Regions from separate parts of the Homo sapiens genome. Here region 2 is linked to region 1. The links are contacts of gene promoters, found by promoter capture Hi-C in human tissues and cell types (Jung and others, 2019). All regions are on one chromosome and are shown on one strand. Each heading gives the region's core, a stretch centred on a gene start or on the middle of the fragment in contact. The rest is flanking DNA. Distances are from core to core; before and after follow the strand shown. Region 1 holds the start of HTR3D (5-hydroxytryptamine receptor 3D). Region 2 has its middle 13 kb from the start of MIR4448.

Region 1 (5,798 bases), core at 779-3,278:
AATCATAAGTCAGCAGCTGGGCGTGGTGGCTCATGCATGTAATCCCAGCACTTTGGGAGGCCAAGGCAGGCAGATCACCTAAGTTTGGGAGTTTGAGACCAGCCTGACCAACATGGAGAAACCCCATCTCTACTAAAACAAAACACAAAAAATACAAAAAAATTAGCTGGGCGTCAGCCATCCCATTACTGGGTATATACCCAAAGGATTATAAATCATGCTGCTATAAAGACACATGCACATGTATGTTTATTGCAGCATTATTCACAATAGCAAAGACTTGGAACTAACCCAAATGTCCATCAATGATAGACTGGATTAAGAAAATGTGGCACATATATATCATGGAATACTATGCAGCCATAAAAAAGGATGAGTTCATGTCCTTTGTAGGGACATGGATGAAGCTGGAAACCATCATTCTGAGAAAACGAGCGAGGACAGAAAACCAAACACTGCATGTTCCCACTCATAGGTGGGAATTGAACAATGAGAACACTTGGACACAGGGTGGGGAACATTACACACTGGGGCCTGTCATGGGGTGGGGGGAGCGGGGAGGGATAGCAATAGGAGATATACCTAATGTAAATGACGAGTTAATGGGTGCAGCACACCAACATGGCACATGTATACATATGTAACAAACCTGCACGTTGTGCACATGTACCCTAGAACTTAAAGTATAATAAAAAAATGAAAAAAAAATTATCTGGGCTTTGTGGTGCATGCCTGTAATTCCAGCTACTCGGGAGGCTGAGGCAGGATAATCGCTTGAACCCGGGAGGCAGAGGTTGTGGTGGGCCAAGATCGCGCCATTGCACTCCAGCCTGGGCAGCAAGAGAGAAACTCCATTTAAAAAAAAAAATCATAAGTCAGCTTTTATTTTAAAAAAGTATTACCTCTGCCACCACCCCCTACTCCACTAATCACTCCCTTCATTGGGTAGACCTGGGTCCAGATTGCTTTTGAAACACTAAAAAGGCATAGCAAATCAGCTTTGAGAAGAGGAAGCAGAAATATGTCATCACTGGAGCAGTGCTAATGGCTTCCTCATACTTTAAAGTCTTAACTATACTGAAGTCATGTTTAAAACCTCAGTGTATGAAGTTGCTTATATTAATAGGGACCCCCCTCCCCCCAACACGCTTTCTTTTTTGAAAGATGGCAGTAGGGGGCCGGGCATGGTAGCTCACGCTTGTAATTCCAGCACTTTGGGAGCCAAGGTGGGCAGATCACCTGAGGTCAGGAGTTTGAGGCCAGCCAACCAACATGGTAAAACCTCGTCTCTACTAAAAATACAAAAACTTAGCCAGGCATGGTGGCAGGCGCCTGTAATCACAGCTACTTGGGAGGCTGAGGCAGGAGAATCGATTGAACCCGGGAGGCGGAGGTTGCAGTGAGCCAAGACTGCACCATTGCACTCCAGCCTGGGAGACAGAGGGAGACTCCGTCGCAAAAAAAAAAAAGGAAGGGAGGGAGGGAGGGAGAAAGAGAGAGAGAGGGAGGGAGGGAGAGAGAGAGAGAGAGAGAGAGAAGGAAAGAAAGAAAAAAGAAAGAAAAAGAGAAAGAGAAAGAAAGAGAAAGAAAGAAAAAGAAAGAGAAAAGAAAGAAAGAAAGAAGAAAGGAAAAGAAAAGAAAGAAAGATGACAGCAGGGTCTAACAAGTTCACGTGCCACCTGGAGGCAGTGGTAGTCATCCATGCCTTCTCGGTGAGGCACTGTACGCCAGAGTGACTTTAAAGTATGAGGAAGCCATTAGCACTGCTCCAGGGACCACATATTTTTGCTTCCTCTTCTCCAAACTGATTTGCCATATTACTTTTGGAGGCTAGATTCAGGCCCAGTTAAAGCACAGGGTGAGTTATTCCTCTGTGACATTCTTTTGTCACCAAGGGGTCTTGTTAGAGAGGCGGTTAATGCCAGCTGATATATATATTATTCAAAGGTAGGGCTCAAGGTGTGATCTGAGGTTTTTTAAAGGTTAACATCATCATCAAGTACCCAGAGAAGTGCCAAAGAGAGGAAGATGGAAAGAGGCTGGTTCCATGGGAAAGGATTCCTCCTTGGCTTCATCCTCCACCTGCTGCTGCAAGTACCTTAAGATAAGAGCAAGAGCTGAGCAGACATGTAACTCCTGGGAAGCAGAGAAAACAGGCTAATATTTTTTATTCTGAGATAGTCAATGATTGGATGTTCGTTATGGTAAAAATGATGCTCGTGACACTGATGGCTTTGTACCTCTTCCTAGGATCCTAATATTTAGTTAACTCTTTTCTCTTCTTTTTTTTTTTTTTTTTGAGATGGAGTCTCGCTCTGTTACCCAGGCTAGAGTGCAGTGGCAATATCTCAGCCCATTGCAACCTTCACCTCCCAGGTTCAAACGATCTCATGCCTCAGCCTCCCAAGTAGCTGGGATTACAGGCACCTGCCACCGTGCCTGGCTAATTTTTGTATTTTTAGTAGAGATGGGGTTTCACCATGTTGGCCAGGCTGGTCTTGAATGCCTGTCCTCAGGTGATCTGCCCGCGTGGGCCTCCCAAAGTGTTGGGATTACAGGCGTGAGCCCCTGAGCCCAGCCTGGGAACTCTTTAAGATAATCCTAGTGATGAAGACTACTAAATGTTAGAACAATCACAGCACATAGTAAAGACACAGTAAATACTCATCAAATTGAAAAACTGAAATTGATTTGTTTCCTTAAGATCCCATATATCTCACACTACCTATCTGATTACTCCCCTTATCATTAATTTATTAGCATCTATGCCATATTAATACAGCGAGGCGGAGAACTGTGAGTGCAAAATTTGTCACTGACATCACCCACATGGCTCCAGGTTGGAGGTAAGCAAGAGAAGGACACTGGCAGAAGGTGGAGAGGTTGCAGTGAGATTGTTAAGGACATGGCAGGACACTGTAAAGTGGCGGTCGGGGTTGAGTTTGCATACACATCTGGACAGGTTTTGCATGGGGACAAAACAATGGCACTGAGGATGGATCCTTGACTCAGCTCACCTCATCAGTTTCCACCATTTGCCTACCAGCTCAGCCTACTCTTCCTGGACCAGGAAGGAGGAGCTCACATGCTTCTCCCAGTGCCCCCTGTTTTCTCTCCATGCAGAAACACTCTCCAGGCCCCCCAGCCCTGGCCCTCCTCTCTCAGTCTCTGCTCACTACAGGAAATGGCGACACTTTGATTATCAATTGCCCAGGCTTTGGCCAGCACAGGGTGGACCCTGCAGCCTTTCAAGCAGTGTTTGACAGAAAGGCTATTGGTCCAGTCACCAACTACAGTGTCGCCACTCATGTCAACATCTCCTTCACCTTGTCTGCCATCTGGAAGTTGTAAGTCCTCACCCAACATTGCAGTGGTCTAGTGGTGAGCAGTGGACCCTCTGACTGGATTTTTTTTTTTTTTTTTTGAGATGGAGTCTTGCTCTTGTCACCCAGGCTGGAGTGCAGTGGTGCAATCTCAGCTCACTGCAACCTCTGCCTCCCAGTTTCAAGCGATTCTCCTGCCTCAGCCTCCGGCACGTGCTGCCCCACCCAGCTAATTTTTGTATTTTTAGTAGAGACAGGGTTTCACCATGTTGGCCAGGCTGGTCTCAAATTCCTGACCTCAGGTGATCCACCTGCCTTGGTCTCCCAAAGTTCTGGGATTACAGGCATGAGCCACCGTGCCTGGCCCTTTGATTGGATTTTGTAAAATTAGTTACTCACAACAAAAAAATCAAACAACCCAATTCAAAAATGGGCAAAGGACTTGAATAGACATTTCTGCAAAGAAGAAATACAAACAGCCAATAAGCACAAGAAAAGGTGTATGTTCAATGTTACTAATAGTTAAGAAAATGCAGATCAAAGCTACAGTAAGATATCTCACACCCACTAGGATGGCTAGTATTAAAAAACAAACAGAAGCTGGGCGAGGTGGCTCATGCCTGTAATCTCAGCACTTTGGGAGGCTGAGGCGGGTAGATCACGTGAGGTCAGGAGTTCAAGACCAGCCTGACCAACTTGGTGAAACCCCATCTCTACTAAAAATACAAAAATTAGCTGGGCGTGTTGGTGGGCACCTGTAATCCCAGCTAGTCGGGAGGAGGAGACAGGAGAATTGCTTGAACCCAGGAGGCAGAGGTTGCAGACAGCCAAGATTGTGCCACTGCACTCTAGCCTGGGTGACAGAGCAAGACTCTGTCTCAAAAAAACAAAACAAAACAAAATTAAAAAACCAGAAAATAACAAGTGTTGGTGATAATGTGGAGAAATTGGAACCCTTGTGCACTGCTTGTGAGGATGTAAAATTGTGTAGCCACTGTGGAAAAACAGTATGGCTTTTTCTCAAAATATTAAAAATAGAATTACCATACAACCAAATAATTATACTTCTGGATAAATACCCGAAAAAAGTGAAAACGGGGTATTTGTACACTTATGTTCATAGCAGAATTACTCACAATAGTTAAAACTCAGAAGCAGTCTAAGTGTCTATTGACAGATGAATGGACAGATTAAATGTGGTATGTACTTACAATGGAATACTATGCAGCCTTCAAATGGAACAAAATTCTAACACATGCCACAATGTGGATAAGCTGTGAGGCCATTATGCTAAGTGAAATAAGTCAGTCACAAAAAGACAAATAGTGTATTTGTCTAATTTTATAGAGACAGAAAGTAGAATAGCTGTTGCCAGGGGTTGGAGAGAGGGTGAAATAGGGAATTACTGTTTAACGGGTGTAGAGTTTCCATTTTGCAAGAAGAAAAGAGCTCTGGTGATGGAGGGTGGTGGCTGGACAACAGTGTGAATGTGTTTAACGCCACGGAACTGTACACTTAAAATGGTTAAGAGAGTACATTTTATGTTATATATTTTTATCACAATAAAATATTGAAAAAATTATTTTTAGCCTGGGCAACATGGCGAAACCCCATCTCTACCAAAAATACAAAAAGTTAGCTGGGCGTGGTGGTGTGTGCCTCTAATCCCAGCTGCTCGGGAGGCTGAGGCAGGAGGCAGGAGAATCACCTGAACCTGGGAGGCAGAGGTTGCAGTGAGCCGAAATGGCGCCACTGCACTCCAGCCTGGGCGACAGAGCAAGATTCTGTCTCAAAAAAAAGAAAAAATGATTTTTAAAAGTGTTTAAAAAATTAGAGGTGCATTCGGCGGGGGTGAGGAGTAGAAAGGCATGATAAGAAATGCTGTAATGACATTACTGCAGGTAAAATCTGTTCTTTTTGGAATACTTGTCAAAACATATTCCCAATGGACCTTCATACTGTGTTTTTCATTTACATTTTCCATGTACCTTGAATTGTTTTGATCTACATCATTTTTCAGTGGCTTAGATCAAAAATCATTATTGCCACATGGACCAGCCTTGGAAGTGAACAAGGAGAGGGTGGTGGCATGGGACCTGCCTTCCTGGAGTTAATCATCTAGATGAAAGCTGCTATTCCAGGATTCACACCTTCAACTGGTGACATCGTTCCTGTGGCTAAATATGGTATGACAGACTCAGTTTCCCCTTTCCTCTACTCTGGTGCCTCTCTTTTTTCCACTCCTAGGTCCAGCTTTGCAGATTATATTGGTTAAAGCTGAGAATATCCATAAATTAGACAAGTTCAAATAGACCAATAATGAAAATACAAAACTTTCTGATTATTCTGCTGGTTTAGGAGGGCAGAAAATGGGCACAGGGAGAAGGTGGTATACACTAAGGCCATGGGAGTCAATACTTATGTGGCTCCATCCCAGAGAATCCTGAGCCAAGCTCAAGCTCAAGCTCTGTCTTG
Region 2 (6,576 bases), core at 443-2,942, 130 kb before region 1:
GCTCCCTTCTGGCAGTTGGAACCGAAAGGTCCTGAGGAGGGTGGCAAACATCAGGAAGAGCTCCATTTGAGCCAGCTGGTCTGCTGGGTAGACACGATGCCCTGGAAACAGAGAGAAAAGTCAGAGGTGGCAGCTGTCCCTGTGTCTGTCCCACCACAGCCCCACCCACCACCCAGGATCCAGCTCTGTGCCTAGTACCTGCAGAGAATGGCAGGAAGGCCTCATTGGCCACAAAGTTTCCATCCTTGTCCGAGAAGTGGCCAGGGTTGAACTGTCGAGGGGTCTCCCAGCACTCAGGGTCATAGAGCACAGAGGCCAGGTTGGGTAAGATGATGGTGCCCTGCAGAGAGATGCTGGTGTGGCTCAGGGAGCCTCAGATGGTACCCAGTACCCAGCCCTGACACTGAGCCACAGTGAGCTTGGAGAATACCCAGTGTGTTGGTGGGAGTAGTCCAGGGGCCTTGAGGAGACTCAGCAGCCGGCCCTCAGGCTGCCCTTCCTCCAGGCTCACATCAGTGAAGGAGCTGAGCAGGACACCCTCCTGGCTAAGGACTGCCCAGCTTTGTCCTGAAGACTCCCAGCCACGTCTAGGGACATGAAGCCATTGCCTCCTACAGAGAAGGCCAACAGCTGGGGGCATGTCTGGAAGGGGCCAAGGACAGCCCAGGACAATACACACTGGGGCAGGGGATGTGTGCACACGTGGGTGTTAAGAGGAAGAGACAGAACGAGGAGAAATGGAATGGCAAACAAGCAGAGAAAGAGGAACTGAGTGATGGAAAGACAGAGAGGAGACAGCAAGCTTCACTCTTTAGGGTTGGGGAGAGGAAAACATGAACCATAAGCCCAACTCTAACCTTCAACCTAACCCCAACCCTCACCTTCCCCCAAACCCAAACCCAAATCTTCCCTCTCACCCTCACCTCAGCCCTCACTCTATCTCAAAGGAGAAGTGAGTGATTAGAAAGAGAATCAGACCAAGCAGATGGGAGCAGGGTAACATCTGCTCCTTACCATGTGGGCCCTGGGCTGACCGGAAACAGCATAAGGAGGCCAAAGTGGAGCCAGGATGGGGTCGGTTATGGTCCCCAGCCCTAGAACACTCAGCTCTGGGATTCCGGGGAAGGCCTCATACCCCAGGGCTCATTTACCAAATACCACAAAATTAAACCAGCTATCCCTGTAGAGACCAGAGGGCTGACTACAGAATTCTTGATTCTGACCAAAGAAAAAGCTTGAAATTAAAAAAAAAAAAAAAAGCTTAGCGAGTTTGAAGCCTGCATTCTAAACAGAAACCAATAAAGAATGCAGAAATGGAGCAGCAGATGCTGGCTGGTCGCAGTGGCTCACACCTGTAATCCCAGCACTTTGGGAGGCCAATCAGGGCGGATCGCTTGAGGTCAGGAGTTTGAGACCAGCCTGGCCAACACGGTGAAACCCCATCTCTACTAAAAATACAAAAATTAGTCGGGCGTGGTGGCAAGTGCCTATAGTCTCAGCTACTCGGGAGGCTGAGGCAGGCAAAGGTTGTAGTGAGCCAAGATCACGCCTCTGCATTCCAGCCTGGGCGACAGAGCAAGATTCCATCTAAAAAAACAAAACAACAACAACAAAAAAAAAAACAGAATGCAGAAATTGTTTTCAGGGGAAATTGTTCTTTTTTGCCGTTGTTGCAGTACGGCACGCTTAGGCAAGGTGCCTCATCCTAGCCATGTGTACCAATAGGGCACCCAGACTTGCTCACTCTGTAGCTTCAAGCAGAGGTGTTGGGGAGGCCTGTGTTCTTGCTGCTGCCTGAGTGAGCTATAGATTTCCCAGTTCTAGTCATGGGAATTCCCCCATTTTCTCTACCTGGGATTAAGTAACCTCTGCATTGCAACGGTTCTTACTAATCACCTTCAGAGGAGGAGGCTCCTAGCAAGATGCTCTTTTCCCTCCAGAATTATTTGTGTCCTTTTTTGGGTGATGTTCTGGCCTCCTTGCAAAGGAGGTTCTCAGCTCATGGAACAGGTTCAGAGCACAGCCTATCCAGTATGCAAAAAGGACAGCGCCCCGCCCCCCGCAACAACCGCCCTCCACTTCCCCAGACTGTAGAACCATCTACCTGCTGGGTACCTCCTGGGGTCGCTGTGCCAGCTTCTGCCCAGTAAATGGCAATTTGGAATTCGCAATCAAATAGAATGTCTGAGAAGAGAGACAGGCTGGAAGTGCAACCGTCGTATCAGGGACTATTGCTGTTGTCACGATCACTCAGCTGATGAAATGGTTAGGAACAGTTTAGGAATATCTGTAACATTTAATGATCTACTGTCAAGCTTTGATTCCACTTTCAGCAGACATCTCTCGTCCAAGTTGTAAAAGCTCAATATTGATTTCAGCTCGTTAATGGGCCCCTGGAGCCTTTATCACAGAACAAGTCCTAGAATCAAATTGGCAGGAATGAGCTCTTAATAAGGAAATTTCTAATCCCAAACGGCATAACACAGAGCAGTACCCTGGCCCCCTCTTTTTAACTTAAGTTGGCACAGCTTCTAGACAACCTGGGCCTGGGTCCTTCTGCCACGCCAGCAGCAAGATGACCTGATGCCCTGGTCCTATCCACTTTCCCAGAGACTCTTGACAAACCTGTAAACTTGCTGGCCAATTTCTGCCAAGGACAGAATGACAGTGTAAAACATCTCCATTGAACACATTGGTTCACTTACCTAGAGTGGCATTTTCGTATAAATACAAACAGCAGGGCATATGGTAGGAAAAGAAAACACTTTAGAGTCAGAGGGACATGCATTTGAAACTCAGCTAAGTCACTTACTAGCTGTGTTTGGGCAGTTTCTTAAGCTGCCTATGCTGAAGTTTCTCTATCTATGGAAAAGAAACAGCAACAAAGCGTCCGAAGGATAGGGCTTCTGTGAAGAAAAAAATCTGTGGAGGAAGGAACCTCAAGTCTGGGCAAATTAATAATAAGTTAATAATGGGGCTGGGCATGGCGGCTTATGCCTGTAATCCCAGCACTTTGAGAGGCAGAGGCAGGAGTTCAAGACCAGCCTGGCCAACCTGGTGAAACCCCGTCTTTACTACAAATTAAAAAAAAAATAAAAATAATAAAAATTAGCTGGACGTGGTGGCACGTGCCTGTAATACCAGCTACTTGGGAGGATGAGGTGGGAGAATTGCTTGAGCCCCGGAGGTGGAGGCTGCAGTGAGCTGAGATCACACCACTGTACTCCAGGGCAGTACTCGGGGCAGAGCCAAAGCTCCTTTCCGAGGAAAGTCTCAGGGCTCCCGCCACCACCTCTATGTACAGAGGCATCACCCTGCACCAGGGCACCAAGATGAGTCGCTCTGTTTCATTTTCATTAAAATGGCAACCTCACCACCTACACATGTTGGTATGTTACCTGTTGCGGGAAGTCAGGGACCCCGAACGGAGGGACTGGCTGAAGCCATGGCAGAAGAACCTGGATTGTGAAGATTTCACGGACATTTATTAGTTCCCCAAATTAATACTTTTATAATTTCTTATGCCTGTCTTTACTGCAATCTCTAAACATAAATTGTAAAGATTTCATGGACACTTATCACTTCCCCAGTCAATACCCTTGTGATTTCCTATGCCTGTCTTTACTTTAATCTCTTAATCCTGTCAGCTGAGGAGGATGTATGTTGCCTCAGAACCTTGTGATAATTGCATTAACTGCACAAATTGTAGAGCATGTCTGTTTAAATGATATGAAATCTGGGCACCTTGAAAAAAGAACAGGATAACAGCAATTGTTCAGGGAATACGAGAGATAACCTTAAACTCTGACCACCGATGAGCCGGGTGGAACAGAGCCATATTTCTCTTCTTTCAAAAGCAAATGGGAGAAATATCACTGAATTCTTTTTCTCAGCAAGGAAGATCCCTGGGAAAGAGAATACGCGCCTGGGGGTATAGGCCTATAAACGGCCCCCCTAGGTGTGCCTGTCTCTTATGGTCGAGGCTATAGGGGTGAAATAGACCCCAGTCTCCCATAGCACTCCCAGGCTTATTAGGAAGAGGAAATTCCCGCCTAATAAATTTTTGGTCAGACCAGTTGCTCTCAAAACCCTGTCTCCTGATAAGATGTTATCAATGACCATGGTGCCCGAAACTTCATTAGCAATTTTAATTTTGCCCCAGTCCTGTGGTCCTGTGATCTTGCCCTGCCTCCACTTGCCTTGTGATATTCCATTACCTTGTAAAGTACTTGATGTCTGTGACCCACACCTATTTGCACATTCCCTCCCCTTTTGAAAATCCCTAATAAAAACTTGCTGGTTTTTGCGGCTTGTGGGGCATCACGGAACCCACCGACACGTGATGTCTCCCCCAGACGCCCAGCTTTAAAATTTCTCTCTTTTGTACTCGTCCCTTTATTTCTCAAGCTGGCCGACGCTTAGGAAAAACAGAAAAGAACCTACGTGACTATCGGGACAGATTCCCCGATAGTTACCCCAGTTAGCCTTGACTCCCAGGATACACACCTTTGTGTAATCCCCTCCCCTTGAGGATAGGATGGATTTAGTAACTCACTTCTAACAAATAGAAAATGGGCCAGACGCAGTGGCTCATGCATGGAATCCCAGCACTCTGGAAGGCCAAGGTGGGAGGATCACTTGAGCCCAGGAATTTGAGACCAACCTAGGCAACATGGTGAAACCCCATCTCTACCAAAAATTTAAAAATTAGCCCATTGTGGTGGCACAATGTGGTGCCTGTAGTTCCAGCTACTCAGGCAGCTGAGGTGGGAGGATCACCCAAGCCTGGGAGGTTGAGGCTGCAGTGAGCTATTATTGTGTCCCTTCACTCCAACCCAGGCAACAGAGGGAGACACTGTCTCAAACCAACAACAACAACAACAACAAACCCAACAAATAGAATATGGCAAAAGCGGCCGGGTGCGGTGGCTCACACCCGTAATCCCAGCACCTTGGTAGGCTGAGGCAGGCCAATCACTCGAGGTCAGGAGTTCAAGACCAGCCTGGCCAACATGGTAAACTCCATCTCTACTAAAATATACAAAAATTAGCCAGGCATGGTGGCACATGCCTGTAATCACAGCTACTCGGGAGGCTGAGGCAGGAGAATTGCTTGAGCCCAGGAGGCAGAGGCTGCACTGAGCTGAGATTGCACCACTGCACTCCAGCCTGGGGTGACAGAGCGAGATTCTGTCTCAAAAAAAAAGAATATGGCAAAAGCAATGGGATATCACATCTAAGATTAGGTTACAAAAAGACCATTGCTTCTATTTTGGGTGCCCTCTTGCTTGCTCTCTCTGATGGGGTTCAGCTGCCATGTTTTGAGCTACCCTATGCAGAGGCCCATGTGTCAAGGAACTGAAGGTCTCCAGCCAACAGTTCATGAGCAACCGGGTCCTGAAGACCTCCATGTAAGTGAGCTTGAAGTGGAGCCTCCCCTAGGGGAGTCTTCAGGTGACACTGTAGCCCCAACAACAACTTGATGGTAACCTCATGAGAGACCTTGAGTCAGAGGCATCCAGCTGAGCCACACCCATTTTCCTAACCCTCAGAAACTGTGAAATGATAAATGCTGTTGTTCTAAGCCACTAAGTTTTGGGGTAATTTGTTACACAGTAAGATAGGTAAGTAATTCAACATCTGTCATCTAGGATCTGCAAGGCTCCGTCAACAATACAGAGCACCATTGTACCGAATGACACCGTGGGCACAAAGCCCTCAGCACACAGCAAGCCTGGGCAAAGAGCAGGTGTCCTCATGTTATTGTCCAGCTCACGTCAAAAATCTGCTCGGAAAGCTATCTCAAGCTGGATCACCAGAGAGCTATCATCTTCAACTATGCTCGAGACCAACCTGGGCAACATGGTGAAACTGCATCTCTGCAAAAAAACAAAGCAACAACAACAACAAAAACAACGAAAATTAGCCAGGCATGGGGGCTCATGCCTGTAGTCCTAGCTACTCGGGAGGGTGAGGTGGGAAGATCGATTGAGCTGGGAGATAGAGGCTGTGGTGAGCCGTGATCGTGCCAATGCACTCTAGCCTGGGTGACAGAGCAAGACTCTGTCTCAAAAATAAATAAATATTGGCCGGACGCGGTGGCTCATGCCTGTAATCCCAGCACTTTGGGAGGCTGAGGCAGGCAGATCACTTGAGGTCAGGAGTTCTAGACGAGCCTGGCCAACATGGTGAAACCCTATCTCTACTAAAAAATACAAAAATTAGCCGGGCATGGTGGCACACACCTGTCATCCCAGCTACTCGGGAGACTGAGGCAGAATAGCTTGAACCTGGGAGGCAGAGGCTGCAGTGAGCCAAGATTGAGCCACTGCACTCCAGCCTAGGTGACAGAGCAAGACTCCATCTCAAAAAAAAAAAAGAATAGAGGTTAAAAATAAATAATTATTTATATAAACTTCAACTGTGTTATTTTGGCTGACTGTAGGAATGAAAGGAATTTTATCTCTTAAAAGGAATTGAGATAAGAAGCAGCTGCCATCTTGAAGAATATTTCTGCATCTTTTAAAAACTCCTGCTTAAATCACTGCCACTACATGGTCCACTGGCCCACAAAAG

What was found. Contacts are between HindIII fragments. The study calls those that stand out against the background at their distance.
Region 2: a contact is called between a fragment that was not itself captured here and the fragment with the promoter of HTR3D in region 1, in 2 of the 25 tissues and cell types used here (IMR-90 fibroblasts and aorta).

Annotation. Positions count from the first base shown.
Region 1 is chr3:184,029,714-184,035,511 of GRCh38, forward strand. It overlaps HTR3D (5-hydroxytryptamine receptor 3D), which reads left to right and starts at 2,029. Exons shown (of 8, transcript NM_001145143.1): 1 at 2,029-2,094; 2 at 5,465-5,509. The coding sequence starts at 2,029. The HindIII fragment of the contact is 22,402 bases long and covers 1-5,798 here.
Region 2 is chr3:183,896,017-183,902,592 of GRCh38, forward strand. It overlaps the pseudogene CYP2AB1P. Among named protein-coding and RNA genes, the nearest start is that of MIR4448, 13 kb to the left of the region's middle. The HindIII fragment of the contact is 5,560 bases long and covers 1-4,472 here.